Linked DNA regions of Homo sapiens: all the other regions are linked to region 1. Evidence: promoter capture Hi-C in human tissues and cell types (Jung and others, 2019). All regions are on one chromosome and are shown on one strand. The core of a region is centred on a gene start or on the middle of the fragment in contact, and the rest is flanking DNA. Distances in the headings are between cores, read along the strand shown. Region 1 holds the start of SMIM12 (small integral membrane protein 12). Region 2 overlaps NCDN (neurochondrin). Region 3 overlaps KIAA0319L (KIAA0319 like). Region 4 overlaps KIAA0319L (KIAA0319 like).

The links. The method cuts DNA at HindIII sites, captures the fragments that hold promoters and counts their contacts. A contact is called where the count stands out against the background at its distance.
Region 2: a contact is called between a fragment that was not itself captured here and the fragment with the promoter of SMIM12 in region 1, in 1 of the 25 tissues and cell types used here (lymphoblastoid cells).
Region 3: a fragment that was not itself captured here is called in contact with the fragment with the promoter of SMIM12 in region 1 in 1 of the 25 tissues and cell types used here (lymphoblastoid cells).
Region 4: a contact is called between a fragment that was not itself captured here and the fragment with the promoter of SMIM12 in region 1, in 1 of the 25 tissues and cell types used here (dorsolateral prefrontal cortex).

Annotation. Positions count from the first base shown.
Region 1 is chr1:34,854,730-34,862,417 of GRCh38, reverse strand. It overlaps SMIM12 (small integral membrane protein 12), which reads left to right and starts at 2,669. Exons shown (of 2, transcript NM_138428.6): 1 at 2,669-2,741; 2 at 6,436-7,688. The coding sequence starts at 6,441. The coding sequence ends at 6,719. RefSeq lists a silencer at 2,718-2,847. The HindIII fragment of the contact is 9,605 bases long and covers 1,586-7,688 here.
Region 2 is chr1:35,564,267-35,571,954 of GRCh38, reverse strand. NCDN (neurochondrin) reads right to left here. Exons shown (of 7, transcript NM_014284.3): 7 at 5,176-6,728. The coding sequence ends at 6,292. TFAP2E-AS1 (TFAP2E antisense RNA 1) reads left to right here. Exons shown (of 3, transcript NR_183387.1): 3 at 2,036-2,144. Among named protein-coding and RNA genes, the nearest start is that of TFAP2E, 5.2 kb to the left of the region's middle. RefSeq lists a silencer at 1,637-1,738. The HindIII fragment of the contact is 6,197 bases long and covers 553-6,749 here.
Region 3 is chr1:35,536,036-35,543,723 of GRCh38, reverse strand. The region is part of intron 2 of KIAA0319L (KIAA0319 like); the gene reads left to right. Among named protein-coding and RNA genes, the nearest start is that of KIAA0319L, 18 kb to the left of the region's middle. RefSeq lists enhancers at 3,586-3,675, 3,726-3,775. The HindIII fragment of the contact is 7,143 bases long and covers 18-7,160 here.
Region 4 is chr1:35,445,019-35,452,706 of GRCh38, reverse strand. KIAA0319L (KIAA0319 like) reads left to right here. Exons shown (of 21, transcript NM_024874.5): 13 at 931-1,079; 14 at 2,198-2,349; 15 at 2,702-2,840; 16 at 4,375-4,534. Among named protein-coding and RNA genes, the nearest start is that of ZMYM4-AS1, 83 kb to the right of the region's middle. RefSeq lists a silencer at 1,428-1,607. The HindIII fragment of the contact is 6,659 bases long and covers 493-7,151 here.

The sequences.
Region 1 (7,688 bases), core at 1,420-3,919:
TGTCTTTTTTTAAAAACAAAGAGTGTAAATAGCTTTTCTGAGATAAGCAGACAAGAGTCAGGATTTGAACCCATGGCTATCTGATTTCTCAGTCTATGCTCCTGAGCCCCTCAGCAATTCTGCTTGAGGGAACTGCTAGCCATGACTCAAGACTCAGCTCAAGGCTTGGTTCCTCTAGGGAGCCTTCCCTGAATCTTCCTGGCTGGGCTGAAGATCCTCCTCTGTGCTGCGTGTGTATACTTCTGTCATCACATTTCTTACATTCTATTGACATTTTGTAGACCCATCTGTTTCTTTAGTCAGAGAACTCTGGAGGCAGGTTGGTCCCAGTCATTTTTGCATCCCCATTGCCTAGCACATGATTGGCTGACCAAATGCCAGTTACTCTGGACAGTTCTGTTCCCTTCTCCTCTCCACATATTCAGTTAGTGAGCAGGTTCTGCTAACAACGGTCTCCTAAATATTTATTTGTACTGTTGGGGCTCAGAAAGCGATACCCCAAAGACTGGCGCTTTGACATGCTGAGAGGCCTTCGAAGCTGCCTCAGAATCAAGGTCCCTCTAACCTTCTCTCCCAAGTATAGGGAGGCACTCTCTCTAGAATTTCCTAATCTGATCGAGAAAACGTCTTTCCAAAAGAAACAAAATTGCCTTCCTCCCCTCTCCGAAATCTCATCTAGCTCAGAAAAGAAGACTGAGGAAGGCAACTACGCCTGGATGGATTTTTCACAAGATGATGCCTGTTTCTCGGGCTCATTCAAATTCTAAAGAGAATCATTTACAAGTTAATTTCTGTCCATTTTTTCGCCCTAAGAATCACTTGCTGCCCTCAGAAGAATTGTCTATATTCTCCATCTCTCCCCTTCCCCTATGAAAAAGAGTGTATACGCTTCTGTACCCCATTGGGTTATTGGGTAATCATTCTCCTGTGACCCTTCCCTTCCCACCCCCTCGCCTCCCCGCCCCGTGCTATGCACGTTAAAATAAAATTTTGTATGTCTTTTCTCCTATTAATCTGCCTTTTGTCAGTTGATTTTCAGTGAACCTTGGCCCCTACAATACTGTTCCCTTTTCTCCATCTTCACTGCCAGAGCTTAGCTTTGAGCTGTTTGAGATAATAGAGGAAGGGTGTCTAATGTGATAAGCAGTCTATGTATGAGGCTTCCTCTGGAGGTGACCCTTAAGCTTGAAAATTGTGCCAGAGCACAATCTGGCATAGTAAAGAAAGGTGGGAAGGGCACTACATGGCCAGGCACGGTGGCTCATGCCTGTAATCCCAGCACTTTGGGAGGCTGAGGCGGGCGGATTGCTTGAGCTCAGGAGTTCGAGACCAGCCCTAGCAACATGGTGAAACCCAGTCTCTACAAAAAGTACAAAAATTAGCCAGGCCTGGTGGTGTGCATCTGTGGTCCCAGCTACTCGGAAGGCTGAAGTGGGAGGATCACTTGAGCCCAGGAGGTTGAGGCTGCAGTGAGCTATGATTGTGCCACTGCACTCTAGCCTGGGCAACAGAGCGAGAGTCCTGTTAAAAAAAAAAAAAAAAGCGGCCAGGCGCAGTGGCTCACGCCTGTAATCCCAGCACTTTGGGAGGCCGATGCGGGCAGATCACCTGAGGTCGGGAGTTCGAGACCAGCTTCCCCAACATGGAGAAACCCCTTCTCTATTAAAAATACAAAATTAGCCGGGCGTGGTGGTGCATGCCTGTGATCCCAGCTACTCAGGAGGCTGAGGCAGGGGAATCACTTGAACCTGGGAGGCGGAGGTTGCGGTGAGCCGAGATCACGCCATTGCACTCCAGCCCAGGCAACAAGAGTGAAATTGAACAACAACAACAAAAAAGGTGGGAAGGTAGATGAAAAAGCATCAATAAGGCACTGAGGTGTGAAACAGTGTGGTCTGCCGGGTTTAGTATGTGCGAGCAAAATAAATATGCAGGCTGAGATTAGTGGGATGAGGGTGGGAAGGGCCTTGTGGGAGCATTAACAAGCTTGAGCTTTGGGACTTTTCTGTATATGATAAAATTGATGTCTGTATAGGGTACAGTGGGGACACAGAGGAGGAAGTGAATACTTGTACCCAAGAGGTCATGTAAGACTTAGGTTTTACTATATTTGAATTATTTTTACACTAACAATAGCCACATTTATTTCCCTGCTGGCTGTGTGCCTGCCACAGTACTTTACAAATATTATCTCTTCCAACCCTCACACCATCCTTGCGAAATGGGTGTTATTACCTCTACACAGAAGGGGAAGGGAGGCTCAGACAGGTTAATAATGTTCCCAAGGTCACTAGAAAGCTAGCCCGGATCCCAAGAGGTCTTAAAGCACTAAAATATACTCTTCTAAGAAGAGCTTCTTGAGGTCAGGGATCATGTCTTTTGTTTTTGCGTGCCCAGACCTAGGTCTTAGAAGACGCCTAATAAACATCAGTTGAAAAAAATGACTGGATGATCTTTCACTTTTTCCACGCAGAAAACACGTGGCGACATCACTGAGAAACCTCCCGGCCAACAGAGGGCGCGACGTCCATTTCAGCGCAGTGGGGCCCAGTTGCGGACGCCTAGCTTCCTTCCGTCCTTTGGCTGAAGTTCAGCCAATCCCTGCGCTCCGAGAGAGCCGGCGGCCAGTGGGCAGGGTCACAGGGCAAGGTCCCGCGGGCCGCTGGGTGCGGCGACTTCCGTGCTCCCGGCGAGCGGGCGGAGAGCGGGGGCCGCACTGGGGAGTGTGGGCTGGGCCGCAGGTGAGCGCGCGGTCCCGGCGAGCAGGTCGGGTCAGCCCAGGCCAGTAACCTCTGAGTTACGGGAGGAGTGATCGCTAGGGTCCACCCCGGTCCCGGCCAGATCTGCCAGCTCCCCTCTCTGGCGGGTGTTCTGGTGCCAAGTCTGGGAGCCCAGGTAGCCCTCCGCAGACAGGGCTTCTCGGCACCTCAATGAGGACGGACGTTGATGAGGCCATGAATGAGGTGGGCTAGGGACAGGGGACCGGGAGACTCACAGAAGGGAGAAGGGTAGCCATTTGGATGGACCTTCGCCTTACTTGCGCTCCCATTCCTGGACTGCGCTCTAGTGACTGTCAGGGCTAATTCTTCCGCCTTCTCAGGCCTCCTGTGTCCTTGTTAGTAGTTCTTGAATTTGGGACTACGGCTTCTGGCCTCGTTGGGCCTCCGGGCCCTCGCACTGGGGCAGGTTTCCCAGCAGCCCAGTTGACCTTTACCGGATGCTTTTGGCAGACGTCCTCCATGCCGGGCTGGAAATATGCGTCACAGTGTTTTTCAGACACTTTTGCCTCTTTCATTGTGATACCCTGCCTGGGGACGACTATGATGGAGTCTTTAGGTTTTTGTAATCAGCAAAGGCATCTGTTATGCTCCTGCCACCTTTTGGGGGAGAGTGGGTGGAGGATGTTGTGATTTTACACTAGGGAGTTTGGGCTGTCATTCATTCGTTCAGCAGACCTTTTTTGGGCACTCTGCCAGGCAGGGTAGGAGAGGTGCCTGGATGGATAGGGCATAATTGGGCCAGACAGACACGGTTCTTAGCCTTTTGGAGCTTAAAGTGTCTTGAGAAACGCAGACAGGGTAAGCCAGCATCGTGCCTGACACAGAGTAAGTGGTTATAAGTGTCGAATAAAGGAATGAATTGACTTATTTGGGAATGATTAGAATGTGAGCAGGACGGTAGCGAGAGACTTTATGCTGCATGTGAGAGATAGTTGTGAACTCATGCGCGATATGTTTTAAGACAGGTTTGGAAATCTGAACGGACAGTTGCTATTTAGGGAAGCATTTACTTATACAGAGGACTTGCTTTAAAGGTGGAAGTAAAATGGAGAAGTATTAGGTTTGGGATTCTTCAGAGGTGCCTCTTTTAACTATTACTATGTCTCTGAATTTCATAAATCCCTGAGTACAATCTCAGAGTTTGGGAAAAGGAAAGCTCTTCTAGGTAATGAAATGCCAGGCTGATGGGAAAAAACTGTAGGAAGCTCTCCCTAAGTCCAGGGTTTGGACAGAAACCGTATACCTCTGCAGTGTGTTCTTCCCACTAGAAAGAGTGTAGGCTTTGAAATTGGAGAGGCCTGGGTTCAAAATCAGTGGCTCTATCACTTCTAGTGATCTTGGATAAGTTAACATAATGTCTGTGAGCCTTTGTGGCCTTCACAAGAGTCTGGGCTAATAATTCCTACATCATAGAGGTGTTATGAGGATCAAATGATGATTAGTGTGTAAATTGTCATCATAGTGCCTGGTGCTGAGACAATAAGCGGGGGAGTCTTGGAGATGCTGCAATTTTTTTTTTTTTTTTAAATTTCATGATGCTGCCTTATTGCAGGGGTCCTTAACCCCCTGGGCCACAGACCAGTGGTGGTCTTCAGCCCATTAGAAACTGGGCTGCACAGCAGGAGGTGAGCGGTGGGCAAGCTGGCAAGCATTACCGCCTGAGCTCCACCTTCTGATAGATCAGCAGCGGCATTAGATTCTCACAGGAGTGCAAACTCTATTGTGAACTGCGCATGTGAGGGATCTACGTTGTGTGCCCCTTATGAGAATCTAATGCCTGATGATCTGAGCTGGAACAGTTTCATCCCGAAACCATCCCTCTCCAACCCCCATCTGTGGAAAAATTGTCTTCCACGAAACTGGTCCCTGGTGCCAAATATAGATTGGGGACCGCTGCCTTATAGTGTTACGTCTAGAGAACATTGGGATTCCTTCAAAGAGAATTGGAACCAAAGAGAGAGGGGGAGAATCATCTTATCCTTGGTGAGGTTTCGATTGTTCACTTTAGATCAGAGATAGTAGTGTTGGAGAAATACCTACAGGGGCATAAACAGAAAGATCTTTTAGTGGATACTTTTGGGCAAGTCTCTTAACCCTCTGATAGTGGGTTATGTATCTACCTCACGTGGTGGACATGAGGATTAAGAGAGTGAGTGTATATGAAGCACCTAGCCCAAGGCCTGGCATGTAAGTGCTCAATAAATGGTAGCTGTGTTATTATAACTGTGAATGATCTTTGATAATTGATAATGGTAATAATCATTTGAGATGGAATTGGCCATTAGAGTGATCCAATTTGTGTGTTTTTACATTACTTTGGTATTGCCCTACTTCAATTCAGGAGGCCCTGAGGCCATTCCACTCCGCTCCCCGCCCCACCCCACCCCACCCCACCCCCCGGGCTTGTACAGTGATTTTTCACAGAAAATCTTCAGGTTCTGCGGTATCCAGAGTATGTATAATGATTTGTGATATTTTCAGGAGCTTTTTATGTAAATATGAAGGTATGGGTTTGGTTGAAGATAGGATTTTTTTTTTTTTCTTGAGACGGAGTTTCGTTCTGCCGCCCAGGCTGGAGTGCAGTGGCTTGATCTTAGCTCACTGCAACCTCCGCCTCCCAGGTTCAAGTGATTCTCCTGCCTCAGCCTCCTGAGTAATGGGGATTACAAGCCTCCCAAAGTTCTGGAATTACAGGTGTGAGCCACCGTCTTTAGCCAAGATAGGATATTTTGAAAATGGTTTAGTCAGCAGATTTGTAAAGTATAGGTTTGTTCCATTGTTAGAAAAGCCAGGTTCAGAACAGGATAAAACCATTATCTATTTACCTAAAATCCAGAATAATTAGGTAATGCATTATGTATTTGACTGTTTAAATATGCTCCTTATGCTTTACATGAGGAAAAGGAACGACTTTTCATATTGTGAAACCAGGAGATTCATCGTAGATTGTGTTTCATGGGGAAAAGGTGGCCGGCTGTGCTCATGGAGAAATTTCATAGAGCAGAGAAAGGCATCTTTTTCCCTTCTTGAAATGTTGGCAGACTAGGTCCTGGGGTCAACAATAGGCTTGAAGCTCTATTAGGTAAGGCTCAGAGGTCCCCTTGTGGGGAACATTGTCATATATTGGTGCACACTTGTCAAAGAGTACGGTCCGTAAAATGGAGATCCTTCCTTCTTCCCTAACAATGGAATCTTTTGAAATTTCCTAGATTATTTCAGGGATCCACCTCTCGCATTGCTCTGCACGGGGGTGGGTGCTCAGTAAATTGTGCCAGGCTGGCCAGGTGTGGTGGCTCACGCCTGTAATTCCAGCACTTTGGGAGGCTGAGGTGGGTGAATCACGAGGTCAGGAGTTCAAGACCAGCCTGACCAACATGGTGAAACCCTGTCTCTACTAAAAAAATACAGAAATTAGCTGTAATCCCAGCTACTTGGGAGGCTGAGGCAGATAATTGCTTGAACCTGGGAGGTGGAGGGTGCGGTGAGCTGAGATCGTGCCACTGCACTCCAGCCTGGGCGACAGAGCAAGACTCCGTCTCAAAAAAAAAAAAAAATTGTGCCAGGCTGCCTGGTAAGTGGAGAGCTCTAGTGGGTTGCTCTTATTTGGTGGGAGATGATGCTGGGTTCTCTAATGCTGCCTTGTGCTTTTCCGCAGATGTCATGTGGCCTGTGTTTTGGACCGTGGTTCGTACCTATGCTCCTTATGTCACATTCCCTGTTGCCTTCGTGGTCGGGGCTGTGGGTTACCACCTGGAATGGTTCATCAGGGGAAAGGACCCCCAGCCCGTGGAGGAGGAAAAGAGCATCTCAGAGCGCCGGGAGGATCGCAAGCTGGATGAGCTTCTAGGCAAGGACCACACGCAGGTGGTGAGCCTTAAGGACAAGCTAGAATTTGCCCCGAAAGCTGTGCTGAACAGAAACCGCCCAGAGAAGAATTAATGGAGGACACAGGGCCCTATGGTCCTACTGTGGGTGGTGACTTGTCCTGCTACCATGTTGACAGAGCCCCAGAACCCACATCTAATTGGCTTTGTTGCTTATTCTGGCCCTTCCCACACCACACAGCCACACAAATACTGGCTGCTCCTTGATGGCCAGGCAGACCCAGCAGCAGCCGAGGGGCCAGTGAAGAGGAAGGCCGCATCTGTTGTGTGGTGGCCACAAGCACTCAGGCATCTGAGTTTACTGGTGCACTGCTGGGAGGAGAGTTATGAGATGAACATTGGCTGTCAATCTCTGTGGGCAGGCGGTTTGGCCTCTAGTGGGAATGGCTGGGATTTGGGCGTTGCCTTTAGGAGGGATACCTGCATGTCTAGTTCCAGTCTGCACTGGAAAGAATTCAAATATGCACCTGGCTCCCTTCACTATTTTGCCCTATCCTTTGTGCTCATTCTTACTGAAATCTGTCTTGTCAGCTCAGGAATGGGATTCCCCCAGGAAGGAAAGCACTTTTCTGTTCTGGGAAGCCCAGACTGTTCACTTTGGGGCAGGGACGAACATGTGCCTCGTGAATTTGCTTGAAAACAGTCACCATCTTCTACCCCCATCACTGTATAGTGAAAAACCTGATTAAAGTGGTATCTGAGAACCATAATGATCGAATCTTATCATCCAGGTGGTATTTGGGGGTCTTCTTAGGAGTTAGGCAAGTACAGGCATTTTAGAGCAGGATAACATTGGTATTAAAGGGTGCCAAGGAGCCCTGGAAACTGCTTTACTAGTGCGGTTGCACTGAACCCTGGAGGCACAGATTCCCAGGAACCTTTTTACCATTATTACAATTGGCTGCAGCACCTTCAAGTCTAAATGGAGGTAGACCTCACATACACACACATAGACGCCTTTCCCTATAAAAGTATATACGCACATTCAAGAAAATTTGGTAGGGATTTTAAAAAGGTCACCCAT
Region 2 (7,688 bases), core at 2,402-4,901, 710 kb before region 1:
CTTCGACAACACCAATAAAAAAGTAGGGGAAGGCAGAGAAGACTAGTTGTTTTTTTAGGTCCCTTTTTAGTGAAGTAGTAAATGAGAAGATTAAGGTAAAATTATTGATATAGAAGAGGAGGTGATAGTGACACCATTAACTCATGGAATATATGGTTCCAAGTGGGTATCCCAGAAGGCACATGGCAGGTGCAGAGCTCAGGGCTGGATGATCTCAGCCTGGGGAGTGGTGGGGAAAGAAGGAGGCTAGAAGCCAAGGATTCATCATTAAGAACTTTCTGAAGTCTGGAACCGCCAGCGAGGTTCCAGAGGATGAAGCGGAATTGGGAAGCTTTGCAACTTTCCTGCTCGAGATGGGTCAGAGATCAGGATTGTGTTTGTGTGTATCTATATATGAGGGAGTCTGTGGCAATGCCCTGTTCCTCCCTCCCTCAACCCCAGCCACAGGGCATCAGAAGTCAAGCTCCAGGACAGGTGTCAGTGCGTGAATAGAAATTGATGAACTCCTCTGGGAGAAGTCTAGGAGCCGCAAAGGAGATGATGCCTGTGCCCAGCTGCGGGGATGCCCCTGCTCTCTCCAGCAGCTTGGGAAGGCCAGAGTGGCGGGATGTGCTGCCTGTCTGTGGCTTCCTTGGGTTTTCTCAATCTACTTCCTACACCTTTGATAGCCCCTTTTTGCCTCATTGTCCTACTCCGACCATTTCTGTCTTCTTTTCTGTTTCTCTTTTCACCTACATGCTTAATGTCGGTAATTCTTTCTCAGAGCAGAGAAGCTTCTTTTTCTTCCTGCACTCTTCATGAGTGAGCTCATCCCCTCTCAAGTCTTTTTTTTTTTTTTTTTTATAACAGAGTCTCACTCTGTTGCTTGGGCTGGAGTGCAGTGGCACAATCTCGGCTCACTGCAACCTCCACCTCCCGGGTTCAAGCGATTCTCATGTCTCAGTTTCCTGAGTAACTGGGATTACAGGGGCCCACCACCACGCCCGGCTAACTTTTGTATTTTTACTAGAGACAGGGTTTCATCATGTCAGCCAGGCTGATCTCGAACTCCTGACTTCAAGTGAACACTCGCCTCAGCCTCCCAAAGTGCTGGGATTACAGGCATGAGTCACCACGCCCGGCCCAAGTCTTTAATGACTACCTGTCTACTGTTATCTCCCAACTGTGTTATCTCTGGCCTGAATCACTAGTGAGAGATCCAGACCCATAGACACAGCTGCCAGCTGCGTATTTTCTCCAGACATCTCATTGCAGCTGTCTGAAATTTTCCAAGTCCAACACTGAACTCAACATCTCCTCTATCCCCAGCACCAACCCCAACCTGCTTCTCCTTTGCTCTGTAGTTTCATAAATGACACCACCCTTTTTCAAGTTCAAAACTTGCTAGTCATCCCAGAAGAGCGTAGGTCCTTTCCTTAACCCCCACAAGCTAATCCTTATGGAGTGTTGCCATTTCTAACCCTTAAACATCCACCCACAGAAGGTATGTGGTGGAGAATTGAGGCAGGTATCCCAGAGGGCACATGGCACCCTGTCTCAGCACCTTAAACTACCTTACTCTTACTCATAGATCAGTGGCTCTCAAAGTGTGGTCCCTTGAGCCCAGGAGTTTGAGACCAGCCTGGGCAACACAGCCAAAGAGTGGTTCCTGGACCAGCATCACCAACAATATCTGGGAGCTTGCTAGAAGTCCCAATTCTTGGATCCCACTCATGACCTTCTGAGTCAATAACTCTGGGGGTGGAGCCCAGCAACCTGTGTTATTAATAAGTCCTTAAGGTGACTCAGAGGCACATTAAAGTTTAAGAACCACTATCTAGGCCATTGCAACAATTCTCTAACTGGTCTCCTGACTTTATTCATATCTCTTCTGATCAATTTCCAACTTCCACAAGAGTGACTGGACCATGTTACCTCCCTACTGAAAACTTTCCTAGGGCTCCCCATGACCCATCTTCGGGGGAAAAAAAGTTTAAACATTCTAATGAGCATTCCAGACTCTGCAGTTGTGACTAACTTACTTTTCCTCTTTCAGGAACTGCTTCACAAGATTAAAGGAGAAACAGAAAATGTATCTAGCGCTGTGCTTGGGGCATGGCAGGAACTCAATGAATGCTTATTAAATACTGTAAATGATAAACACATCAATGGATGGTGTTATGAATCCACTGGCCTATTAAGGGATCCTTTAGGAAGGCTCTATGTGAACATGATCCTGGGTATCTACACATAGAACCCAGGTATAATCTGAAGAGATCATCTGATAAGTGAGTGATTTTGATTATGGCTACTGGGGAGAGGGATGTTCTCCATGGTCTGCTGCTGCTTTGAGTCTCCCTAAAACATCAGAGTCCCATGATTTCAGACTCAGGACTACTTCTTTCAGTGCCAAGGGACTCCTCACTCTCTGAGGCATGGAGGTGGAGATTTCTGGTTGTCTGCTCCCTGGGACACATGCACACATGTGGAGGCCTGGGGTGCAGTGGGGTACACATGCAGACAGCCTTGGGAACATGGGGCACACAACTTGCACAGAGACATTCATGGGAAACACAAGTACACATAGGAACATGGGACATATATTGACATAGAGTTGCATGCTCAAACATACGTGGACTCCCATTTGGCACACTTGGCATACTGCTTTTCTCCAAGGCTCCTTCTCTTTTCAAAAAGTGAGCTTGCATTTGGATTTTATGTTAAGAAAAAACTCTGATCTGCCTCATTTATTGTTGACACAGCCACCCTCATCCTCCCAGCCTTTGATCACCTCCTGCTCCAGGCCAGGCTGAGTGTTTGCAGGGTGGGGAAATCTGGCACAAGGAGATGCCAAGGCGCCATCTCGTGGTTAGATCTCACAACTGCAGCTCAGATCTCCCTTTTCCCCACTCCGCTGAAATACCAAGAGCAAGCCAGAACTCTCTGACCATACCTCATTTAAGCACAGAACTCTGTCTGCCTTGTATTAGGAAGCTTTGCAGGGTTTGACTTCTCCACTATGGGAGGGAGAGCACCCTGACAGCAGGGACCATGGGTGGCTGTCACTTTATTTGGGACCTTTCTCTTCTCTTTTCACTTCCCCAGATGATCTCAGTCCCTCCCATGACTTTAGGGACCCTCTATACTGACAGCTCCCAAATCTGTCACTTGCCCAGACTTTTCTTGAGCTCCAGACCATAGAAAGCAACTACCCCTTGGATATACCATGAGCAGCACAAATTCGCCATTTACCAAGTTGAGTTGTGTATGGTATGCACAAATCTGTCTCTGTCCCAGTGTTCCCAGTGACAGTGAATGCCCCATTATCCACTCAGTCTCCCAGATCAGGAATCTGGGAGTCATCCTTGGTTCTACTCCCCTTCTCTTTACCCCTCTTCACTTCCAGTTAATCACCAAGTCCTATTAACTCCTACCTGTATCTTCTCCAGCCTCATTGCCACTGGCTTAGTTCAGACTTAGCATCTCCTCTCTGAGCTCCCTGGCTCAGCCATTCCTCTTGCAGTGCCTCATCTTCCCAAAATGCAAACGGGATCACATTCAATCTGCTAAAAAATCTGCAGTCTAGCCGGGGATGGTGGCTCATGCCTACAATCCCAGCACTTTGGGAGGCTGAGGCAAAAGGATTACTTGAGGCCATGAGTTTCGAGATCAGGCTGGGCAACAGAGTGAGACCCTGCTTCTAAAAAAAACAAAACTGCAATTTGATCTCTCAGCATGATTCCACGTTTAAGCTTCTGAGCACAGCACAGTAGGATCTGGTCCATGCCTGCTGGTTCAACCTCATCTTCCACCACTCCACACTTCACACTCTATACACCATGGAATGCGAAACTACTCGTAGTTCTCAAGCTTGCATGCCTTCAGACCTTGCTGTTCCTTTTCGTGTCTGCCTGGCAAGCCCCTCCTCACCCTGAAGTCTCAGAGCACATAGTTGCTGTAAGTTTTCCTGCAATCGTTTGGCCAGTCTGAGGGGCTCGCATGCTCCAGCCACACTGTGTTTGGACCTACATAGAAGCCACTGCTTACAGTTTTTTTGTTTTTGTTTTTGTTTTTTTGAGACAGGATCTCACCCTGTCTTCCAGGCTGGAATGCAGTGGTGTGATCATAGCTCACTATAACCTCAAACCCCTGGGCTCAAGAGAACCTCTCGCCTCAGTCTCGGGAGTAGCAGGGACTACAGGCACGAGGCACCATGCCCGGCTAATTGTTTTTCTTTTGTAGAGATGGAGTCTCACTGTGTTGCCCAGGCTGATCTTGAATTCCTGGGCTCAAGTGATCCTCCCACCTCAGACTCCCAAAGTATTGGGATTACAGGCGTTAGCCACCACACCTAGCCTCTATGTCTTTTCATATTTACCCCAGAGAATCCATGCTAAGAAGATGGCTTTCAGTACAACCAGTCAATAAATAAATATTCCTGTCTATGCATAGCCAACCACAGGTGGGCACATAGGCTATGCTCAGCACGTGCTTATAGGTTTGAGGGCCTAGGTGGAGGAGGTTGCGGAGGGTATGGGTCTGGGGCCTGTCTGGCTCCAACCTCACAGCTTTGGCTCAGGACTGGTGAAGTACCCATAGTGGGTACTTGGCTCATCTGCTGAAGCTTGCAGGCCCTCTGGCTTCTCATTTGGCATACAGGATCAACAGCTGGTAACCTGAAAGCTACATTTGGACTGCATGTTTTGTTGGATCAGTAGTTATTTAATTAAAGATAGTTACTGACATTCAAAAGTTGGGTTTCACATACAAATTAGGATTCCTGACTTCTTTAAAAATGGGAGGATATGGCAGGGCCACTTGGCAGCAACCCAGTGACATGGGGGCGGGGGTGCAGTGTTTCATCTGTACTTGAGAGCACCAGAGCCCCCACAAGGCCTGGCCACATCAACATGAGTTTGGCAATCTGCTGTACAAGTGAAAGATGTGGGCTGGGGAGTCGGATGGCCTGTGTGGAGTCCTGGCTCTGGCACTGACTAGCGGCAACACCTTGAGCCAATCACTTATCCATGCCAAAGTTGCTTTGTCTGTAAAATCAGAACCCTTCAGAGGATTCTTGGAAGGGCTGAATGAGGTCTCATGATGTGTTTAGCAGGGCATGTGTTCAGCACCTGGTAGCTGTGAACTGATGGAGCCTGGAAGGGAGAGAGCAGGTGCAGGGCAGACCACGCAGGAGGCTTCTCGTCACCAATGAACATTTATTGAGTGTCCACATGTGCACAGCTTTGAACTTGGCGATCACAGAACGCACTGGGGGAGGGAAGCAAGGGATCAAGAGTGTGTGTGTGTGTGTGTGTGTGTGTGTGTGTGTGTGTGTGTGTGTGTGTGGTCCCCCTGGGTTTATAAGAAAGGTAGTCCCTGCTGGAGCCGCCAGTCGCGTCTCTGCAGAGAGGAGTCATAGCAGGGGTGGGAGTTAAAGCCAGGCACCACGGTGGCAGTGGAGTGTAATCACTGGGGAAACATGCGGATTCTGGGGAAGTGTCCCTCCTGTTCCTGGCTCCAGCCAGGCCAGATGGCACCAGGGGGACAGGAATCAGATGCTCAGGTGTCCAAGCAGGGATAAGGACAGGCAAAATAAATAACCCCCCAACCCCCATCGTCACTCTGCTGCAACACGACACAAAGGTTTAAAGATCTGGGCCCAAAGACTCTGGGTCCCTTCAAGCAAGCTCAGGTGGAAGGAGGTTTCCCCACCCCCCACCAGGCCTGTCTGCCCCAGGTTGCCCTAGGATGGAGGCAGTTCAGACCCTGGGTCACTGAAGCTGATAGGAAGAACTGCGATATCAATGGCCTAAGCCTGCTGTCTGCCCAAGGGAGCCAAGGGCAAGAGCCAAAGGGCCAATTTAAAGGACGTGGACCTGGGGGGCCAGAGGAGGCACCACAGCCGAGGGGAGCCCACGCCCTGGCCGGCAGGGCACATGGGCTGAGGCAGTCTGCTCCTGCCAGCCCTGTCTTACCCTGGAGCCTCCCTCCTGCAGGGGAGCCAGACATCGGGCACAATGACACCTAGTGCCCCCCTCCCTGGGGGCTGCTCCAACCTTCCCCGGCCTGGCGGGGACAACCACGTTGATTTCCAAGCCGATCCCTGCCCCCATGGGGGCCTGAGGGGCGGAACGCAGTTCCTTACACTTGAGGGGTGGGCACCATGCCCTTGCCCTCAGAAAAGCCAGAAAGCTGGGGTGTTTTGGGGAGGAAGTCTGGGGAGGGGGGGGCCAGATTGGGGGCTTCAGGGAAGATGCCTCCTCCCTCCTTCCCTCTCTGCCCGCCCCTGGGTCTGTCCCCGGTGGACACCCCTCAGGGCTCTGACAGGCACTGCTCCAAGGCAGCCATGCGGTAGTGGCTGGCCGTCTCCTCGCCCGCCTGCAGCCTCATGGCCTCCCGGCACAGCCGGTTGGCCCGCGCCAGCTCCACCAGGACACCCTGATAGGCGGCCACCATCTCGGGCTTGACAGAGTTGGGGCTGACACTGCCTAGCAGCTGGAGCAGCTCCTGCGGCCAGCGGGAGCGCAGGGCAGCGGGGGCCAGCCAGGGCAGCAGAGGCACACAGCCGGTGAAGGCCTGCATGCCCAGGAACCAGAGCTCCTGCAGGTCGGCCCAGATGCCCTCATACTCAGGGGACAGGGCTAGCACTGCCTGGTCTGAGCCCGGGGTGGCCCGCGCCACGTGGGACTGTGATAGGAAGAGGATGGCAGCTGCGAAGAACCCTCGGGATGCTGGTGTTCCCTGAAGAGCTGCAAGGTAACGGAAGGAGTGGGGCATGAATCGGACAGGCCAGCTGCTGTGTCAGACCCTTCCCTAGTCCTCTGTGTAGACACATGCAGGAGCCAGGGCACAGCCTGGAATCAGACTGCCTGCGTTGAAACCCTGCCTTAGATGCTCACTGTGTGACCTTGGGTAATTAACTTTTCTGGGTCTGTTTCTTTACTTGTAAAATGGGCCAATAGTGCTCATCTTAGAAATTTGTTGTGAGAATTAAATGTGATCATCTTGGTACACTCAACCACCAAGACCTCTACCGGCACTGGAGGTGGGGGTGAGTCACAGGGTCAGATGGGAGAGAGAACCCCTCAGGGTTCTGGACACAGAGCTCAGACACAGGTTAAGGGAGTTGCACCATTTGATCCTTGGGCCAGAAGAGGGCGCCAGAGAGGAACATAAGCAAGTGACCCTGCTTTGCTTACTGGCTGTTCAAGGGGTGACCCTCACACTGCAGGTGCTCTCCAGGAAGCTGTCAACCTAACCTGGTGGTATTTGAGGGTGAGCCAGAACTGGGACCATGAAATTGGGGGCTGCAGAGATGCAGCCTGGGACTGAGAGTGCAGAGTGGGCTCCTGGTGTACAGGGATGTGCACCCCTTCCCATGACGGGGTACCCTGCTGGGAACCCCTCAAAAGGAACACAGAGGCAGTGGAAGGTACGGGCATGTTACGCCCTGTTCCCAGGCATCTGCTCAGCTCCTCCAACCTGACAGATGGGGCACAGGGAACAGGCAGGGACAGAGGGACCCAAGCAGACACCCACAGCCAAAGAGGGAGACACGGAGGGCTGCCAGGGGCTGGAGGGGACGTCCCTCCCCCTGCAAACAGCCAGAGTGAGGCAGAGCTAGGGAGAAGGTGTGCATAGAGGGACACCAAGTGCTGAAGGCTGTCACTGATGGGGGTGAGGTACCGAGCAGAGCAGAGAAAAACATC
Region 3 (7,688 bases), core at 2,340-4,839, 680 kb before region 1:
GTTGTTCTCATACCTGCCTGTATTCCTGAACCCAAGTAAGTGTCCCTGGCAGGAAAAAGGTACCTGTAGGCCTTGCCCTCACTTGCCTCGTTTGCCCTTACTTTGAGGGCTGTAGCCTCTGTTGTACCAGTCAGAGCCAGTGGTGTCTTTTTCCTTTAAGAGAATGGTATATTTTGAATATGCATTGGTCTTAATCTTCAGGGGAAAAGCATTTTCAGGAGACTTTTTAGGTGGCATTATATCTCTGCTCTTCATGTATCTGTTGGGCACCCAAATTGAGGCAGATGACTAATGGAATATATCTTACAGCAATGAGTCTTCAACAGGAACTTTCTCCTGCCAAATTGTCCTATATTCTTAACTACATTGCAGTACAGGAAGGTAATAAATTATTAATCCTAAATCAGTCTCCTCAGACTGTAGGATAATGACTTGAGTACATGTCACTTGGGGGAAGGTAGAGTTTTCTGGCTGTTAACACAAACCATGCAAGGTTTTTGATTCTAAAATTCAGCTAGCATTGAGCAAGTCTATGGTGTCTTGTTATATCACGATTTAATTGACATAAGTAAGGCCAATCAGAATTTGCTAAAGTTGGTCTCTCTCTCAGTGAAATTAAATCACTGTGTCTTGCTTAAACACTTTAGTGAAAGATAATCATCTTAAATCCTACTATCTTGGAAAACCATAATTTTGGTGGGTTCTTTTTGCCCTTTAGAAGACCTGTGCAAATATAAACTTACTTCCCCATTTGTGTGACAAAATGAAGAGGGATGAGAAAATTAGCATAATTGGGCAGTAAATCCAACTCAATTTAAAAACTATCTTAAATTTATTCTCCTCAGGAATTCCTTAAGGGAGGAAATAATAAAACAGCAGAGGAGTTTATAAAAACAAACAACAATTGCAGGGCCGAAGCATAGCCTTTTGGCTTATTTTGGAGATTTTATTAAAATCTCAGTAATTGGAACAGCTTCTAATTCAAGGCATTGTGTGAAACTGGCAGGAACATAGTCAAGAACTATGTGTGTGGTTAGTGTTTGGACACTTTTTTATTTTTTTAAAGCCTCAGCTCTTCCCTGTGCACACCTATTTTCAGATGAACAGTAGTGAAGGGTTTGGGTCAGAATGGATAGCTCTTGATTTGAGGACCTACCTTTTGAACTTTCTTTCTGATCCTTCTTCCAACAGCTTTCCTAAGAAAAGCCCATATGGTTAAGGTCCTGTAGCCACTTTTGACTCCAGATAGTACTGGATAAGTTCCAGAGAGAGGTTGTAAGAATTGGTCTTGACTACCTGCCTTTTCATCAGCTGAGCAAGAGATAGGAGACAGAGTGGCGAAGGGCGTGGAGCATGGACTTGGGTGTCAGACAAGTCTCAGTCATGGTTTTATAATGTACTGGGTGCTGTTACTGAAACATACTTTCCATCAGGTTCTTCATCTATAAAATGGAAATGACAGTACCTCTTAACAGGATTGTGAGTATTAAATAAAATATTCATGCAAAGGGCTTAGCCTACTCCCAGGTACATAAATAAAACTCAGCAATTGTTAGCAATAACGTAAAAGTTTAATATGGTTAAATTCTTGTCTAACCGCCAGATGACCCAGCAGGCAGGAGGGTTGAGTTCTCTGCTAGCTTCTTAAACCTCTGTCCAGTGGGAGCTTTGTCTGCACATTATTAAGTATGAGGTAGGCAGCTGGGCCTTCTGTATTATTGGGGAAAGTAGGCCTCCATTCATATAGCTTTACAGGTCTGAGACTAATTGAAGCCCATGACAGAATGAATTGTATTGTGCATTTTCCGTGATTGTAATATGCCACTGAGGAGCATGATGGGCCACTTGTTTCTTCCCCCAGCTAAGGAAACATTTCCTCTGGAAGAGGACTCTGTTCTGCTGCCACGACTCCACCTTGCTCTCTGCCCTAGTTCACTTCCCCCAAAACTGATATGTGCCCATGCTTGGCAAGGCCTTGTGGTAGGCCAGGTTGGCTCTGTCTTTGGTCAGGACAGTGTTTTGACTGGGGCTGATTCAACAACACTTTTGGGTTTTGGGTTAGAAGTAGTTTGTAGGCTGGGCGCGGTGGCTCACACCTATAATCCCAGCACTTTGGGAGGCTGCGGTGGGTGGATCACCTGAGGTCAGGAATTCAAGACCAGCCTGGCCAACATGGTGAAACCCCGTCTCTACTAAAAATACAAAAATTAGCCAGGTGTGGTGGTGCATGTCTGTTATCCCAGCTACTCAGGAGGCTGAGGCAGAAGAATCACTTGAACCCAGGAGGGAGAGGTTGCGGTGAGCTGAGATTGCACCATTGCACTCCAGCCTGCGTGACAGAGTTAGATTCCATCTCAAAAAAAAAAAAAAAAAAGGAAAAAAAAAAAAAAGAAGTAGCTTGCAGAGTTTGTCCTGTGCTTCCTTCCTTCAAAACATATTTATCAGGTGCCTGCTATCCTAGGCATTAGAAATGCAGTGGTAAGACCAGGCGCAGTGGCTCATGCTTGTAATCCCAGCAGTTTGGGAGGCCGAGGCAGGTGGATCGTTTGAGGCCAGAAGTTTGAGACCAGTCTGGACAACATAGTGAGACCCTGTAACAAAAAAATAATAAAAAGTTAGCTGTGCTTGATAGTGTGCATCTGTGGTCCCAGCTACTTGAGAGACTGAGGTAAGAGGATCGCTCGAGCCCAGGAAGTCGAGGCTTCAGTGAGCCATGATCACGCTGTTGCACTCCAGCCCGGGCCACAGAGTGAGACTGTCTCAAGAAAAAAAAAAGGGAAAATTAATACATTGGTGAGCAAGACAGATACGGTTTCTGCCCTCATGAAGCTTGCAGTCTGTTAATACCTTTGCCATTCTTAGGGAACAGAAATTCCCTTTGAGAGGGATGGCATTGCTGACATCAAGATTCCCTTCAAGGAGTTTGAGGCTTCCCTAGGGTCCCAAGGTAATGCCATGACAATAGAGACCTAGTCTTCTTTGCAGAATCCTGGGAATGTAGGAGACTAGACAATTTGATGTCTCAAGCTGGTCTTAATAGAATAACCTTCTGCCAAGAATTATGTAAGTGAAGTTCCTGTCCACAAGATGGTATATCTCCAGTTTTCCTTTCTATCCAGTGCTCTGTCTCTCTCACCTTTAATAATCCACATTTCCTGAATAAGCAGTTAGAGTGGTTATTTGGAAATGTGGAAAGAGTGCTATAGCTGCAGCCTTTGCCCCCAAGTTGGAAGTGTGTTCCTGTGGTGATTTCATGGGCGTTAGATACACCCAGCCCATCAGCACTTGAAAGTCTTCTGCATTAGGGTGCTCCTGCCCTTTTGGCATCAGGTTTGTTACTCAGGATCTTAGGTGAACCATTCCAATGCTTAGCATGAAGCAAGCACCAATTATATAAATCTTGAACTTCCCTGGCCAATCACAAAAGGAAACTATAAAATGCCCTAAGAAGAGAAAGAATTATGAATGTCCCTGAATGGTGAGTTAGCCATCACAGACGCTGTCCAAAGGGAAACAGAAGCAGGGAGGAATGCCAGCCAAGGCCTATCTGGAACTCTACCCACTGCAGACTCTGCCCTAAAGATGGGTGCCCAGTGCATCTCACTTCAGTTCCCCTTTTTAAACTCCCTCAGCAGATGACAGGATTTTTAGGAATGCTCTCTTTCTTCCAACTGGCTTAACATTATGTTTTGATTCTAATCCAGCAGCACATTTGAGTTTGAAATAAATGTATGCTTATGAATTCTTTCACTTTTAGGTAATAAGGGGAATGACTAATATTACCAGACCTGGGAGATGGAGTGGGGGGTAACATTGATTCAGTTTCACTTCTGTAGCCTTAATTTCAGATTCAAGTTCACCATTTCAAGAGGACTGCCATCCTGCCTGTTAAGAAATGGCTCCTCTGTTTTTTGTTTGTTTGTTTTTGATACAGCTCAATGTTTATTGTCCTTAACTGAGGGCAACCAGAGTCAGCTGGAGGCTTATGGAAGTGGGGTGGCTACAGTGAATGAATCTTAATCAGAATAAATGAAGCAGCCTTGTAGAGAAAAGCTGAAGAGCCAGCTTCCATCTCAGAAAGTTGAGTAATCTGCATCCTGCTGGGTCAGTCTGTGGCATCTGGCCTGAAGCAAGCAGCCCCATATGCTGAAGCAGTGCCAAGCTGTCTTCTACCTGTGCATTCTACTTCATCAGTTTCTAACTGCTTGGTTTTCAAAATTGCTCTCAGCTGTGCTCCCCAGGGTATGCTTATAAGCTGCACTCTGACATTTCTCACAATGGACTTTTCAAATAACAGCGAGTTTTCCTATTACGCCTTCTGTGAAAAGTTAAAGGGAGGAGTTGGCCCCTGACCTGAGGTCTGCAGACCTGGAACAGGGTTATTTGCTCAGGATGTTCAAGGCAGAAACAAAAGTTTTCTGGCCTATCCCTGGAGACTTTCTCTGACAAGCATACCCTCCTTTCCGTTCCCAAGCTGTTTTGATTGAGCTGTTTCGCCTCCACTCTTTTGTATTTCATGTGGGGGTTGCTACCTTGGCAGCATGGCTGCCTCTGTCAGTGGAGAGGAAGTGGTGGAGAGTAAAGGCCGTATGTGTACGATATGTTTCCAGGGCTTTGCTGTGTCCCTGTGGGTAGTGTGTGTGTGTCAAAGAAAGAGAGAGACACTGAAGAACATTTGGGTGTTCTTATTTCCCTGCCTAGAATTAATACCATTTTTTGAAGCAGCAGAGAAATGTTGCCATTATACAGATGAGGATAAGGAAACGCCAGTTTCCGTGCAGTTAGAGATAGTCTATACTAGATAATTTGGCAGTCAGGAGTGTTGACCAATTTGCCCATATTTTCATTTCTGTCAGTAGAATGTGACTTACAATTAACTTGAAAATGGAGGTATAAGAAAAAAACACAAGTAAAAACACGTCAGAAAAATGAAGTCTATTAAAAGCCACATGATTGCCATAAATAAACCAAACAATATGAAATTACCCGAATGTCAGTGCCACATTATGGTGTTGACTTAGATTACATTCTCCTAATATTTGTGGTCTCTGGCTCTTTATATGTGTTATCTCACATTCAGTCAGTGCCTTAAAATAAGCTAACTGCATTTTTTTTTTTTTTTTTTTTTTTTTTGAGACAGAGTTTCACTCTGTTGCCCAGGCTGGAGTGCAGTGGCATGATCTCAGCTCACTGCAGTCTCCACCTCCCAGCTGCAAGCAATTCTCCTGCCTCAGCCTCCCGAGTAGCTGGGACTATAGGTACGTGCCACCATGCCTGGCTGATTTTTGTATTTATAGTAGAGATGGGGTTTCACTGTATTGGCCAGGGTGGTTTTGAATTCCTAACCTCAGGCAATCCGCCAGCCTCGGCCTCCCAAAGTGCTGGAATTATAGGCGTGAGCCACTGTGCCTGGCCTAACTGCATTTTTGTACCTTCTCTAGGATGCTTAATTCACATTATTAATGATAATTAATATCTAGGTATTTTATATATATACTATAGATACACGCATTTTAGGTCAACAAATAATATATCAGGCTAAATAAAACCAAGTTCCTGCCATTAGAGAGGTCACACTATGGAGGCAGAGAGAGATGTAGAAACATAAAGAAGCATGATCAATTCCGAGATGTGCTATGGGAACACAAAGAATGGGGCAGAGAATAGCTGAACCCTGTTTTATAGCAGGCTGGTAAGACATGGGATGTTCTAATCCCTTTGAACCTCCTCCTCCCAGATTCATTTGAAGTGGCTTTTAACCCACAGAGCTCTTTTCACTTTTTTTATCTTAGAGGGAGGGATAGAGGGAAGAGTTTGTACAGCTCTGTAAGTCTAGAGAATAAGAGCCCTAAGAAATTATTTCTGTACAGATACAGATTGGCTTTGATTTAATTTAAATAAACTGGCTCTCAAAAATTCTAAGAATACTAACTACTCACACAGTTTTGCTTTCATTTACACACAGATGAGAAAGCATCTGTAGCTCTGCATTTTATTTGCTATAAGCAAAAAGTGGTTCGAGATATTTAAGTATCTGAAGCTTGGTTGTATTGAGTCCTCACATGTCCCAGTTCAGCCCACTGCAGTTTTTTTTTTTTTTTTTTTTTTAATGGCGCTTACATAATGCTCCAAAAAGAGAGAGTTTCAATGGGTAAATTGATATAAACTTTTCCTCTATTGGCCATATCTGCTGAAATAACACTTCATGGCTAGCTATATTATTTCCTTACTTCCTCCCAAGCCTACAATTCTGTTTAATTTACATATTTCTGCTGCGGCCCTCTAAATGACCTTCTCTTTAAAAACAACAAAACAAGCCAGAAAAAAAAAAAAAAAAAGGAAAGGAAAGGAAAAACCTTCCCAAAAAACAAAATAGTGCTCTGATTCAGGGTTCTTTGTGTGGGTTTCCAAGGGAGGTTGGTATGATTGTGCTGAATGCAAATAATTTATCAGCCGGTAATAACTGCAATGAGAAATGGCAATCAACTGCAGATTCTTAACAATACCATCTACAAGTGGGCTACACAGGGAATTGGTAGATTCACGACATCATATCTAGGTGCTTTTCTTTTTAGAAAAACAATTCTTTCTTTTTAGAACCACTTTTATGTATAGGCAAAAGTTTATCTGTTATAATTTAATACCTGTGCTTTTTGAAGTACAAAGACAGTATTACATAGAGAGGTGTGGGCTCCTTCAAGCTGTGGCTTGGAGGCGTGCTCTCCTTGCTGACAGCATTCTCCAGAGTCTTTTAGTCATAAGGTGGTGGGAGAAAAAGCGAAGCAGGAGATTCTGAGTACATCATATGCAGCAGTGTAACCCCCTAGTTACAGTTGTTTTTTTTTTTTTAAGTGCATAGCTTAATCATTTGCCTTCAATCTGCCTTTAAATATTATAAAGCCCTTGATGACTGGATTGTTTCTGAACAGGTGACTTTATGGTAGGAGAGCTATTTTCAGCTACACCAGTGATTTGATTAATACTTGGCTGTGAAAAATGCCTTTGGGCTAAACCTTGGCAGATGGGTCTTTTGAAATGGAATAGCACCTGTATCCAATTAATGCAAACTTTTGATTTATTAAGTTGTTTTAGGTAGAAGTTAAAGGCATTAGAATTGTGATAGAGTGGTTTCCCTGTTTTCACCTAGGTGACCAGAACTTTGAGGTATCTTTTTCTGTTTTTCCTTTTTCATCATTACTCAGGACAAGGGAAGGTGAATGGATCTAGATGTCATCAGTGATGCATGGCTCTTTGCCTAGGTGAACTGGGAAGCTATTCTCCACTGTTGCTTTGTTCAGAAATTTTCATGGTGAAGGCTTATGTCACCTTTGAGTGAAGTCGAATGGTCTGAAATAGGTAGCTCAGGGAGCTGAAATTTGGTTGGTCCTTTCATGAGGAAAGATTTCTTTGGGATTTGAAAGGATTTTCTAGTTTAGAGTTTAGACAGGAAAGGCTGTTTCCCAGCTGGTTATATTATTCAGTTATCTCTTTTTTATCCACTCTGCTTTTCTTCAGTTTCTTTCTTTGCACATCTCTCATATTTCCTATTCAGTGCACTCCCCAATTTAATTGGAAAAGCTCATTCTAATTTGTTAGTGAACCAGGAACTTTACTTTTCTCTCTTGCCTCTTCCTTCTTTCAGCCAAGGAAATTAATTAACATTAAGGATCTGATTCAAATGACTATAA
Region 4 (7,688 bases), core at 2,573-5,072, 590 kb before region 1:
GTAGAACATAATCTTACCCAGCCCAGGGTGTTTTTAATTATAATTGTTTATTGAAGATATGGCTGATAGACCTTTTAGCTGAGTTTTATTAGTGTTTACAGCAGAGATAATGCTTAGCATAGCTTCTTGAAGGAGACTGTGCTTCAGGAGGAGCTACCAGGATCAGAGGCTGTAACTTTAAAAGGCAAAACAAAGTAAATCCTGGATGTCTGCAGATTTCTCTGGCTTTCCTGTAGTTAAAAGCTCTGGGGCATTTTGATCCTTGAGCAGAGGGCTCTCTGGCTGTGTGCAGCCTGAATGTTGGCACAGAGCTCCCTTGGCTGCTGCAGGCAAGTCTCTGAGGCCACAAGGGGGAAGAAGGGTTGTAGGGTGTCCTAGGTGCTTGATGGCCCCTGTCCAGGAGCTGGAGGGAACTTTGCTTATAGAGTTGCTACAAACAAGATGATTTTGTCCTGAGAGTTCCTCTGCAGTCTTGCCCCATTTCCTTTTCTTTCATCAGGAAGGATTTGGGCACGTGATTAAGAAATGCATTTTGCTTCCTTGCTGGCAAGAGCCAAACCAACTACTGGGCCAGAAATGCTTTTTAGAAACATCACTCTTAAATCATTCTTTTGATCAGAGACTTGCTCAGAGAACTTTCTTCCTTTTACAAACTAGAATGGTAAAGCGTTCAAGTGTTCTAGAAGCTCATATAAAGGATAAGGCTAGAGGTGTTTGAAAGCTATTTGAATTTTCTGACCAGCAGGCAGCCTGTATTTTGAGGCCAAATGACACTTTGTCCAATTGAAATATTTTTAAACATGTCTTGTCAAGGTCTGGGTAACAGTAGTTCGTGTCTTTGCTGAGGGAGTCATTGTCTCCTCCTGCTAAGTTAGGGACAGGACAGCAGCAGACAGGTACAACTCTACCCTCTAGTTTCTTTTTTTGCAGGGGACCTGATGGGGTGCAGCTCGAGAATGCTAACAGCAGTGTTGCTACTGTGACTGGGCTGCAAGTGGGGACCTATGTGTTCACCTTGACTGTCAAAGATGAGAGGAACCTGCAAAGCCAGAGCTCTGTGAATGTCATTGTCAAAGAAGGTACCTCTCTGCCTCCAGTTTGTGTAGCAGCCTCTTAGGGTCAGATAGCTGAAGAATTTATCCTGTCATGTTTGCCTGCAGAAATTGATTAGAGATAGCAAGAGGTGGGTAAGAGGGTTGGGGTGAGGGCAATTGTTATTTTCTTTTCTAAAACAGCCTTTAATTGGACTGTAAGGTGAATTTTAACTTCCCTCCCTCCTCCTGCTTACATCTTCCCTTCCCTCTCATCCCCTTACTTTCTTTTCAGTCCTCCCTCCTTCCCTCCTTACTTTATTTCTCAGTTGAATAGGGAAAGAATTAAGGGTTCTATTCTTTGCATTTTTATTTTGCCCCTCTGCATTGCTGAGACCTGGGCCGTGACTCCTGTTAGCTACAGTGACACCTGCTGTCAGGCTTGAGAATGACGGCCGCACTACAGCTGACTATGCTTGCCCTGAGCCTTTGAGCTGAGGCCAGCCAGAGGCCTTGCTCTAGTTTACAGGCACAGTGACCAGTGAGAGCTGTGGGAGAGGGCCTTAAGTTGAGGGCCTTAAGTTGATAGCAGGAAAAACCATCAGATATGCAGACCTCCAGACATAAGATACCAAGCTGAGTAAATACTGCACAGACATCTGAATATACAGAGCTTCACGTGGGGCTCCGAATAAGAGAGGTAGCTCTTTGTTTTCTCTTGTGAAGTTCCAAGGAAGGGGTCCAAAAAGATATTCAGAGAATAACATTTTAAGATATTTTGAAGGAGAATTTGCAAGATCAGCTAGGTGAAACCTAAACTCCAAGGTTTTAAGCCAGTTTGGGCCGTTATTTCTGATCATCACATACCTCCAAAGCAGAGAAATGGATTCCATTTGGGAAGGCTGCTGGGAGAATATGAGAGGAAAGCACACTCGTCCCCTCTGTTGTACAGTGTTAGGAGAACATTTCTCTGGGTAGGACTGGAACCTCAGGACTGCAGCGCTGGTAGCTTTCATCTACACTGTTGGTTGGTGGCAGGGACAGGCACTTAAAAAGGTTCTCCAGTTAAGGTACTCTTGATGTTTTAATTTCCCCATAAGCATCATGAAGAAACATTTCTTCTTTTCCAGAATGTCACATTATGTCAATGATTTCTTTTTGATTAGAAATAAACAAACCACCTATAGCCAAGATAACTGGGAATGTGGTGATTACCCTACCCACGAGCACAGCAGAGCTGGATGGCTCTAAGTCCTCAGATGACAAGGGAATAGTCAGCTACCTCTGGACTCGAGATGAGGGGAGCCCAGCAGCAGGGGTAAGTGTGCTAGGAGCTGGAGAGCTACACAGGAGTGGGGAGGAGGAGGAGCCACGCGTTCCAGTATATGCTTTAATCAAGTGGTCCCTTATATCAAACCCAGATTGTTCTCTGAAATCCAGGGAGGTGAAGTGACTTGCTTAGGGTCATTCTGTAAGCTAGTATAGCACAGAATGGGTTTCCCTTCCCTGATCCTAGCAGTTGTAGGCTGCAATGCTGTTCCGTATCAGGAACTGCCCAAGGTTGAAACAGTTCAGCCCTGAAGGGCCTAGTTATGGTGAAAGCAGCAACTGACTCCAGGAAAGGAATGGCATTTTGTTCTGTAACATAGCCATGTTGTTCAACCCTACAGGAGGTGTTAAATCACTCTGACCATCACCCTATCCTTTTTCTTTCAAACCTGGTTGAGGGAACCTACACTTTTCACCTGAAAGTGACCGATGCAAAGGGTGAGAGTGACACAGACCGGACCACTGTGGAGGTGAAACCTGGTGAGTTCATTTAGTGATGAGGCTGAGTAGAATTGCTGAATCAGCCAATCAAGGCCTCTATCCTGAGATCCCCTTCCCCGAGCATGGACAGAGCCAGATGGCATGTCCAGCTTTAAAAATAATCGAGAAACCCCAAGCTGAAAAATCCATAGAGACCGTCTGTTCCAATAATACCTCCTACCCATGCAGAAATACAGACCTCCCCCTATTCATCTCAGATGGAGAAACAAACTCAGAGAGGGCAGGACTTGCTCAGTGTCACACAGCAGTTGTGTCAGAGCCAGGCCTTTGTGCTCGTAGTCCAGCACTTTCTCCTCTCCTCGTGACTGATGAGAGAGGGCTCAGAGTGCTTGGGAATCTGAGCATGGGAATAGCTTGAGTCATGATGTCTCATCAGCATCCAGATGCAGAAAACAATTTATTTTTATAAGTTGAGCCTCAGGCCTTGTCTGATAATCCAGGGAAGGTAAAGTAATAGTGCTCTTTACATTTTTCAGCTTTGCAGAAATAAAAATTTTCTTCTTAAATAGAACCATGTTTTTATTTTGCTTTGAGATTAATATGGTGATAGGGAGGCACTGAGTATGGAGGTGGGATAGAGCTGTATAAATTCCTGAGCTTCTGATGAAATGGTATTAACTTTAAACCTACTCTTTATTATCTAGGCCAACCTCATATATGGATGTTTTGGACAGGAAGGGATCTTGGGAGGTCTTCCAGTCCTTGTCCTGCCTCTAGGAAGGACAGTAGCTGAGACACTATAAAATCTCTTTGGTGTTTAAAGTCAGATCACAGATAGTCTACTAATTATGCAAATTATACATCAGAACAGGCAAGTGGTGCATTCAAGTATGTAAATAAGGCATTCCAAACAATCAGTTTGAAATTCCAAATGTAGAACATCTTTAGGACATATTCAAAAGTAAAACATGATAGCCTCACCGTTTTAGAGTTATACAAAGATAGTGCAGCTGTGATGTGGCTCTAAGGAAATCCTTGTGTCTTGGCTGACTGGATTTTCTTTTGTTAACTGTATTTAAACCTGGAGGGACGGATGCATTCCCATTATTGAGGAGGTTGTTGAGATGGACACTTTTCCTCCCATTGTTGTGCACAAAATACAGCGAGGCACTGAAAATCAGATGTGAGTCAGGAGAGATTGCTTAATAACCCCCACTTGGCCTGGATTGCTCAGCACTGCCAGTTGCACAGAGGCTTTTAAAACAAATGTTTAAGTGTTTCTCTCTTCCCCACTCCCGTCATTACTCCCCACCCCTCATTGCATCACTGCTTCAGCCTTATCCCCAGCACATGTGTGGGAATTCTCAGGTTGGTATAGAGAGCAGGAGTGCTTTAGAAGCTTTCTAAGCCAGCCCCAGATTGCCCGATCAGGAATTCACTATTGTCCCTTTCCATTTGAAGGATATCTGAATGTTCTCACTCCTTTCTCTCCTGTGCCAAAGCAAATGCACAGTGGCAGGTCTGTGTTTACTCTCCTACTTCTAAAGCCATGACTGATCCACATGCTTTCCAGATCCCAGGAAAAACAACCTGGTGGAGATCATCTTGGATATCAACGTCAGTCAGCTAACTGAGAGGCTGAAGGGGATGTTCATCCGCCAGATTGGGGTCCTCCTGGGGGTGCTGGATTCCGACATCATTGTGCAAAAGATTCAGCCGTACACGGAGCAGAGGTAGCTGGGCAATGAATGGGGGGAGCAAAGGAAAGACCAGGGGCCCCCGGGCTTCTTGAATGAGCTGAGAAATAGTGTGGTTAGATAGAGAAAGGTGGGCTTTCTGACCAGAAACACTCATGTTGCCTTTTCTTCAATAGACTTCTGTCTTCTAGTGCAGGTGACATGCGCTGTACTAGACACTTCAGCAGGGCTCCAGGGTGTAGGAGGTCAACTATTTTGACAACCACAGTCTAGTAGAGGAGATAAGTAAATATGGAACATTAGTACGGTGTGGGTTTGGTACAACAAGCGGCATTGTGGAACACTGTGGCAAGGACAATGAATTCTTCTAGGAGAGTTGGGGTAGGAGTAATCCAAAGATTTTTCTAGAATAAAGAAAACTTCAACCTGGGCAACATAACAAGACCCCACCTCTACAGAAGATTTAAAAATTAGCCAGGTGCAGTGTGGTTCGCCTGTAGTCCAAGCTATTTGGGAAGCTGAGGCAGGAGAATTACTTGAGCCCAGGGGTTTGAGGCTGCAGTGAGCTCTGATCACACCACTGCACTCCAGCCTGGAAGACAGAGTGAGACTGTCTCAAGAAAAAAAAAAAAAAGAAAAAAAAAGGGGAAAAGGAAACTTATATTGACCAGGCATGGGAGGATGGGGAGGAAATTCAGAACAGGGCAACAGCATTGAGCAATGGCCCTGTGGTATGAAAGTACACAGTTTCTTCCAGAAGAAGTCACTTGGTTCAAGCTTAGTGGCCCCAGGATGTGGTAGAAGACAAGACTGGCAGTGGAGATTGAGAACAGTTATATGCAAGCTGAGGATCTTAGTTTTAATAGTTTGGGTAGGCAGATCCAAGTTGGTTTGTTTTATGTGTGTGAAGTTTTTGTTTTGTTTTTAAAAGCAAGGAATTTCCATAATTTGATTTTTTTTTTTTTTTTTTTAAAGAAAGATCAGTAGTGTGGAAGCTAGTCTAAAATAGGGAGAGACCAAAGGCTGGGAGACCATTCAGGAAGCTTCTGGACTAGTCCAGTGAAAAGGTAATAAAACCTGAATTAAGATAGTGGAAGAAGAGGAGAAGAAATTAAAAGAAATTCAGTGGTAATTCAGTAGTACCTGGCCCTTTACGAATGAAGGTGAGTGAGATAGCAAATGTGAGGCTTTTGGTTTGGATGTCTGGATAGATGGTTCAGGTCATTAACTGAGATTGGGAAGGCAGGCGAAACCAGTATGGATGATTGAATTTGGGGTGTCTTACTGGCTGCGTCAGGAGATGTTCCGTCAGATAGCCACAAGTAAAGGCTGGAACTTGTGGAAGGAAGAGCCCGAGATAGGAGTTACTGCATACAGGCAGGAGCCAAAGCCATGAGAACGGGTGAGTCTCACTAGGAGAGAGCTAAGATGGATAAGGACACAACTCTGAAGGGCATCATTATTTAAGGAGGAGGCAGAGAAAGAAGAGGTAGCAAAAGAAACTAAGAAACAGCAATCAGGTGGGAGGAAAACCAAATGAGAGTAGTCTGCTGGAAGTTAAGGGGTGATCTGGCAAAAGGGGTGCTTCCAAAGGATTCAGATGCTACAGGGATGGAGGTGTGGTGAGAACACAAAGTAGGCCTATGGGTTTGTGATTAGTAGATCAGTGCAACTATAGTGAGAGCATTTTACTTAGATGTTGGAGGCAGAGGACAGATTTCATGGTTTGAGGATACAGAGATGGTCAGTATAACACCTTTTTGAGGAAGTTGGTGCTGAAAATAATATGGGAGGTAGGATTGAAAGAATATCTTTAAAAATTTTTTTTCATTGTGGTCCTTGTGGAACATGAACATCTTTTTAAAATAGGAAGTTTGTGAGCATTTGTATAGACTGAGAGGAAAAGGAGATGGTGGAGATAGGGGATGGGTAATAAATGGAGGCAGATCTGGGGGACCAGCCAAGTTGGAAACATGAGGTGAGAGCAGTGGTTCCCAACTCCAGCCACACAATAGAATCTTGCGGAGGTTGTCTGAACATAACACTGCCCAAGCCTTAGCCCCAGAGATTATAGTTCAGTTGGTCTGGAGTGGGGTCTGGGTACCTAGAATGGAAAAGCTCCCCAGGTGAATTTAATCTACAGTCAGGGCTCACTAGGTCAGAGATAGCACGATTAGGGATAAGTATACTCAGCAGCCTGGGAGTAGGAACAGGGCAAATGGCTGCTTGATTGATCCAAGCTGGCGGGAATTGGCTGGCAAGCAGTGGAAAGATGTTAGCAAGAGTGCTGGTAAGAGCACTGTTGACAGGTTGCTCAGATTCACCAGCACTGCATAGGGGGCATGAGCAAGAGAGAAGCTTCTGGGTTTCCCTGAGCTTCTGGCTTGTACTGGATTGACTTAGTTAAGGAATTCAGGAAGAACATGTGATTGGAAGAAAATAGTATTTTACAGTAGGAAAGAACATGGCCCTTATATTAGACCCAGCTTCTGAGCCCTGCCCTACTAGTGTTAGCTCTGTGGGAAAGTTACTTCACCTCTCTGAACCTGTTTTACTATCTGTGAAAATACTAGTACCTATTTATAGGATTGTTATGAGGATTAAATAAGTTAATGTTTGTATAGTCCCTCACACATAGTGTGCAATTAATGGTTATGAGTTGATTTTGAGACTTGTTGGATTTGAGGTATCTGTTGAAGCTCTGGGGTAGATATTCACACAAGTATTTGCAGATATAGACTGGTCACTCAGGAGAGATGTGGGGAAAGGAGATAAAGATCTGAGGGTTATTGATATATAGACCGAAATTGAAACTGTAAGCATGAATTAGGTAACTGGGAGAAGATAATGGGCAACGGACCACACATCCTTTATGGCAAAAGTTTTTTTTTGTTTGTTTGTTTCTGGAATTGATAATGCCCCATTGTTAATCCCACTGTGCAGCAAGCTTTTAGAAAGTCTGTGGCAGTACTTCTCAGATTTTATGTCATGCATGCCTGGAAAATGATACCATTTATAGGGCACCTTGGGATAAACAGAGAAGGCTGCTTGTATTGGAAGCAACTGGTCCAGGGCCTCTAGGATGCCCAGGTCCCACCCAGCCACACTGCATGATGAGGGGATCAATATCTTGGTCACACCTGTAAACCAGTGTGACTCACTGATTTAGAAGGTTCTAATTGTAAAACTC